Regions from separate parts of the Homo sapiens genome. Here region 1 is linked to region 2. The links are contacts of gene promoters, found by promoter capture Hi-C in human tissues and cell types (Jung and others, 2019). All regions are on one chromosome and are shown on one strand. The core of a region is centred on a gene start or on the middle of the fragment in contact, and the rest is flanking DNA. Distances in the headings are between cores, read along the strand shown.

Region 1 (2,942 bases), core at 285-2,784, 710 kb before region 2:
AATCCACCAAGCTGACACTGTATTTTTAAAACAATACCATCAGCCATCTCCAAATGATAGCAAATTTACGGGAAAACAGTCGTAAGAAAAAGATGAGACCGGGGTTATTATTAAAAATTCAGACACCTTTTTTTCTCCCACTTTCTCAATGTGTTAACTGTTTAAGCTTCTGCCTCCCCTTCCTCAGCTGTTCCCTTCTGCAAAGCGATGAATAAATACATGTTTCCATCTGAATATTTTGCAGGCGCAAGGTAAACAGACTCGTTCGCTCCAGGCTGGGTGACAGAGCCTCGCGCGGAAGGTTGAGGCGGTGCGGGGGCGGGGGGGGGTCCCCTTCCCTCTCTCCTCCGGGTCGGAGCCAAGCCGGCCCCTCCTCCCCTCCTCGCCCCTGCCTGGAGACCTCACTTGGCCCGGCCTCCGCCAACCCACCACGCCGCTTCCCGGTTCGGACGCAGCCGCTGTTCTGGTGACTCGGGTGCTGCCGCCGGCCCTTCTCAAGCCGCCCAGGCTTTTGGGGGGCAGTTACCCACCCCGCTGTCCGTGAGGGGCCGAGCCCCAGAACCCCCACCCCTCCACTCTTCCCCAGCAGGCGAGCGCGAAGCGGGCCCGCGGCAAGGGGACGATATCTCGCCACCTGGAACAAAGGCGTCCCGGCGCGCCCAGAGCCTGGGGTCCGGATGGCAGATCCGGGAGCGACGCCGGGTCTTTACCTGAACTCGGGACTCGACCAGGTCTAGGCGCAGCGCCAGCGCCTCGCGCATGAACACGTCGGGATAGTGGCTCTCGTTGAACGCCTTCTCCAGCTCCTCCAGCTGCCAGCCGGTGAAGTTGGTGCGGGTGCGCCGCCGCTTGCAGCCCGGGCTCTCCTTGTCCGGGTCCCCCGAGTCTGCGGGCAGTCACAGGACGCAGCGCGGCTCAGCCACCGGCCCAGGCCCGACCCCCACCCCTCCCTCCCGCTACCCGCTGGCCGCCTGGATCCGGGGGGGGGGGCGCAGAGACGGCCGCCTAGGAGCCGGCTCTCCTTCGCCAGCCCCGGGCCCCCCAGCGCCTCGGCCGGACCAGGGCCCCCGCCCCCAGCCGCACTCCTCCCCGCCCTCCCGCCCGCCGCGCCTACCTGACAGCTTGAAGGGCTGGCCGTCCCCGCCGACCCCGCAGGCGGCTGGCAGCAGCGGCGTGGGGTTGACCACCGAGGCGGCGGCGGCGCACGAGCCCCCGAGCAGGCCGTCGATGGAGAAGGGCACCGAGGCGGCGGCGGCGGCCGACTGCAGCTGGTGCCCGGCCAGCTCGTACACGTGGTGGTGGCCCAGCGGGTAGGGGAAGCCCACCACGCCGCCCAGCGAGCCCCCGAACTGGGCATGCGGGTGTTCCAGGAGGCGGCCGTCCATCATCTCGCGCGGGGGGCCGGCGGGGCCGGTGGCGGGGCGCGGGGGCGCGGGCCGGGGCCGGGGCGGGCCAGCGGCGGGAGGCGCGGGCGGCGGCGGCGGAGACAGGGACCCGGAGCCCCACACATGCTTCGCCCGCACTCCGGCGCTTTACTTATCAACATCAAGCTCCCGATAATTAGCCGCGGCCCGGGGAATTTGGGACCAATAAGAAGCGCTAATCGGCTCTGACGTCAGAGGCGTGCTGGGTGCAGGGAAACGTTTTCCATATCGATTGCTAATTATACCTGACATGCACCTCAATAAACAGTATCAGGAACTGTCACAACAAGACGGGCTGGGGGCGGGGGGAGCCGGAGGGAGGGAGGGAGGGAGGGAGGGGCCGCCCAGGGCCGGGCAGGCGCGGGCTGGTGCCTGGGCCCGGGGCAGGGGCCCCCAGCTAGCCCCCCACTTCACTCGGGGCCGGCCCCGAGCCCGCGCCTCCCGCCAGCCGCCGCCTCCCCGCCCCTCCGCAAATCACTAATAGATTTCCCTTTAAAACATTCAGCGCCGTGTTGTGGGGATTTTTCACCAGAAATGCTGTACTCTCTGAACCTTTAAAGTGATGTTGCTCCAATTACAGAGAGACATTGAGCGGCAAATAGACTGATCCAATAATAGGAGATTCATCATCCGCTTTTCCGAAACTGTCACATTGAATTTAAAACTACAAGGCTTCTCATCTCCTCCTCTCCGGCTGCAGGCGGCGGGAGAGGAGGAAGGAGGAGGAGGAGGAGGAGGAGGGCGATCCCGAAAGAGAAGAACTACAGAATGTAGCACCCTGTCAATAAAGAGGCGTAACTAATGCCCTCTCTGATTGACTGGCAGTCGCCCTATCTACAAAGACAGAGGTGGGGGGGGCTGCGGAGGCTCCCCGACCCCCATCCCCATAAAGCCCGGGCGCAGAGGAGGAGAGAGGGATGGGGACAGGAGGGGAAAAGTAACTTTGGGGTGGGGCCGATCCGCCCCCACCCCCTTACACGCTCGAATAAAGATAAATACATCCGCTCTGACTCGGCCTCTGAAGGATGGGGCTGAAGCACCCAACCCATTTATTATAATTAAATTATGTTCTCAGAGAAGTGTCACTCCCTTCTCTGCTATAAAATATTGATAGACTCAAAGCTAAATCACTAAAGGATATATTCTTAAATAAGCAGCAAATCAGGATTGTGGGCAGCAAGGAAAGAAATGAGGGGATGTCGGTCCATCTCTCTCCTTTGTAAAAAAGTTTGTCAGTGGGGTGGTCGCATTTGGCTGCGGGACCCCAGTGCTGGACTAGTTGGGTTAGGGCCACCTCTCCAGCAGTGAGTGCCCCGAGCCTCGGCCAGCCCAGGGCGGGGAAGAGAGGAGGAGAGCTCCGGCCTGGGCTGGGCCAGTCTGCGGAGCCACCACCACCCCAGGGCAAAGTGACAGACCAGTTGGCTTTGGGTGTAAGTAAGTGACTTGGGCCAGGCCTCCAAGCCCTAGCCCGCGTGAGAGGGAAGGGCAGGCCGGGACCGTGCGCATCTCTGCGTCCCT
Region 2 (3,115 bases), core at 313-2,812:
TGGCTTTAAGGGGCTCCTCCACGTTTCCAAGGCTCCCCTGGTTCTGTCCCGGTCCCGCTTGGTCCTGACCACCCAGAGGGCATGCTTGACCGCGGGGGTCGTGGTGTGGGGCTGCGGCCAACGGAAGGGAGAGACGTGGGGAGGGGGCCTGCAGGTGTGTGGAAGGGCGCGTGTAGACGCGACCCACTGGGAGCGGAGGGAGAGGCGTCGCTCCCCAAATATTTGGGGGAAGGGGAGAGCCCCCGAAGCGCTCTCCGGATTCGGCCTTTGAAATGCTAGAGCTGGCCTAGCTGGGGATGAAAGACCGCCCGCGGGGCTGCGCCTTAACGGCCTTTGTCTGGAGGGAGGGCGACCGCGACGGGGGCAGGGGTTTAATCGACAGGGTTGGGGGTGACGGCTGGGCCGGGCGGGATTCTCCGCTGCTCACCCAAGGAAGCGTCTCCTGGGCTCCAGGGGCCTAGGCCGTCTAGCCTCGGGGTCTGCACAGCACGCCACCCCGCTGGACCCGGTACCAGGACGCGTAGACCCCCTGGCAGGGCACTGACGAGCACCTGGACCTGTAGTCAGGGTCCAATCCCTCCTGGTCTAGGGAGGCGAAATCCATCCAGCCCAGGCGCACCCGCCCTTTCTCGGCGTGGGAGCCGTCTAGCCACGCTCAGACCTCGGCCTCCGCGCGCGTTCCTCCCCCGCATCGCGCTCTGAGCTGCGCCTCGGCCGGAGGTGGCGCTCTGTGCGCCCCACGGATCCCGACGCGGGAGGCTCAGAACCCGGGGGACCCTCACCGGTGGCTCCTTTCCCTTCCATCCCCTCGACTTCCCGGCTCAGGGCGCGGCCCTGCCTTCGGCGCGGGAGTGGGGGACTGGGGGGCGCGGGGTCCCAGGGTGGGGACGAGGCGGGCTGCAGGCCCTTTCCCCGACTGGAGCTCGCTCCCAAGTGGAAATGTGGGTGGAGGGTCCTCATTCAGATGCCCCAGGCCTCGGATCCTGGGCGGGGGCGCGTGGCAGCCGCCAGGTGAGTGCCCCAAACCCGCCCCCCTCCTTCCCCAAAGACTGACTCCCCCTCCTTTTATGGAGAGAGGAAGGCTGGGGCCCTGGATCCGAACCGTGGAGAGCGGCCGGAGCGCCGGGGCGGGGGCGGGGACCGGCTCTCTGGCCCTTTTTGGCGCAGCAGCTCTGGGCGCTGCCCGCTGCCGCCGCTGGGGCCCGAGAGAGGCGAGCCGGCGACGGCGGCGCTTCTGCGGCGGCCTCCTCCCTCCCCACCCGGTGCCGCAGGATTGCAGCTGGCACTGGAGGGTGGGCAAGCTCGAGGGAGGGGCGCGGAGCCCCGGCGCGGAGCCGGGCGCGGGGCTTTGATGGATTTAGCTGCTTGCGCGAGCGCGTGTGTGCTCCCTGCCGCGGCGGCGGCGCCCGGGCCCTGCCGGGTCCGCACGAACCCCGAGCGCTTCCGAGGTGCGGGTCCCAGGCCCGGAATCCGGGGGAGGCGGGGGGGGGGGGCGGGGGCGGGGGCGGGGGAGGGGCGCGGCGGCGGCGCTATAACCCTCTCCCCGCCGCCGGCCGGCTCCACACGCGCGCCCTGCGGAGCCCGCCCAACTCCGGCGAGCCGGGCCTGCGCCTACTCCTCCTCCTCCTCTCCCGGCGGCGGCTGCGGCGGAGGCGCCGACTCGGCCTTGCGCCCGCCCTCAGGCCCGCGCGGGCGGCGCAGCGAGGCCCCGGGCGGCGGGTGGTGGCTGCCAGGCGGCTCGGCCGCGGGCGCTGCCCGGCCCCGGCGAGCGGAGGGCGGAGCGCGGCGCCGGAGCCGAGGGCGCGCCGCGGAGGGGGTGCTGGGCCGCGCTGTGCCCGGCCGGGCGGCGGCTGCAAGAGGAGGCCGGAGGCGAGCGCGGGGCCGGCGGTGGGCGCGCAGGGCGGCTCGCAGCTCGCAGCCGGGGCCGGGCCAGGCGTCCAGGCAGGTGATCGGTGTGGCGGCGGCGGCGGCGGCGGCCCCAGACTCCCTCCGGAGTTCTTCTTGGGGCTGATGTCCGCAAATATGCAGAATTACCGGCCGGGTCGCTCCTGAAGCCAGCGCGGGGAGCGAGCGCGGCGGCGGCCAGCACCGGGAACGCACCGAGGAAGAAGCCCAGCCCCCGCCCTCCGCCCCTTCCGTCCCCACCCCCTACCCGGCGGCCCAGGAGGCTCCCCGCGCTGCGGGCGCGCACTCCCTGTTTCTCCTCCTCCTGGCTGGCGCTGCCTGCCTCTCCGCACTCACTGCTCGCGCCGGGCGCGCTCCGCCAGCTCCGTGCTCCCCGCGCCACCCTCCTCCGGGCCGCGCTCCCTAAGGGATGGTACTGAATTTCGCCGCCACAGGAGACCGGCTGGAGCGCCCGCCCCGCGGCCTCGCCTCTCCTCCGAGCAGCCAGCGCCTCGGGACGCGATGAGGACCTTGGCTTGCCTGCTGCTCCTCGGCTGCGGATACCTCGCCCATGTTCTGGCCGAGGTTGGTGCCGCCCCCGCGCCCCGTCCCTGCGCCGGCTCCTCCGGCGCACACCCCCCGCCGGCTGGGGCGCCACGGGCTCTGCAGAGAGCGTTTTGGTTCCTGCCAGGGTGGTCGATGTTTAGATTTTCCCAACTGGGTTCTATTTTCTGCCATGCCTAAGTGTGTGTGGGGAGTTTCCAGCGTGTTGCGTCGGTCGCTCTGCCTCGGGGGGACCGGGGAGCAGCGAGGTGGACGAGTGGGCAGAAACTTCGGGGGGCGCAGTGTCCTCTCCGGGGAAGGGGAGCTGGGGCGCAGCGGGCGCTGCAGCAGCGGGGTGCGGGGAGCGGGGAAGGGGGTGTGTGTGAGCCGGCGGAGCCTGGGGAGGAGAGAAGGGCGGCGGATAAATAGGTAGGGGCGGCTGCTGCGGAAGCCCCTGGCCGGGCAGGGTGGGCAGCGCCAAGCTGCAGCCCTCGGTTCCCAGTCCCCAAGCCCGGCGGGGCTCAGGGCCGGCGCAGTCCCGCCCGCCCGGGCCTGCTTACAGGTGGCTGAGCGAGGCGAGCTGGGGCTGGGCCAGGCGTCCGCACCCTCCCACCGCGGCGTCCCCGCCCCCCCATCCCCATCCCCATCCCCATCCCCGGGAGCTTTGCTGTGATGAATGACTTTCCAC

What was found. The method cuts DNA at HindIII sites, captures the fragments that hold promoters and counts their contacts. A contact is called where the count stands out against the background at its distance.
Region 1: the fragment with the promoter of UNCX here is called in contact with the fragment with the promoter of PDGFA in region 2 in 1 of the 25 tissues and cell types used here (stomach).

The regions. Positions count from the first base shown.
Region 1 is chr7:1,231,464-1,234,405 of GRCh38, reverse strand. UNCX (UNC homeobox) reads right to left here and starts at 1,534. Exons shown (of 3, transcript NM_001080461.3): 1 at 1,115-1,534; 2 at 711-886. The coding sequence starts at 1,388. RefSeq lists an enhancer at 1-529. The HindIII fragment of the contact is 11,886 bases long and covers 1-2,942 here.
Region 2 is chr7:518,293-521,407 of GRCh38, reverse strand. It overlaps PDGFA (platelet derived growth factor subunit A), which reads left to right and starts at 1,562. Exons shown (of 6, transcript NM_033023.5): 1 at 1,562-2,469. The coding sequence starts at 2,407. It overlaps PDGFA-DT (PDGFA divergent transcript), which reads right to left and starts at 1,017. Exons shown (of 3, transcript NR_033963.1): 1 at 1-1,017. RefSeq lists enhancers at 1-4, 1,849-2,770 and silencers at 1,093-1,432, 1,533-1,622, 1,903-2,042, 2,503-2,592. The HindIII fragment of the contact is 45,371 bases long and covers 1-3,115 here.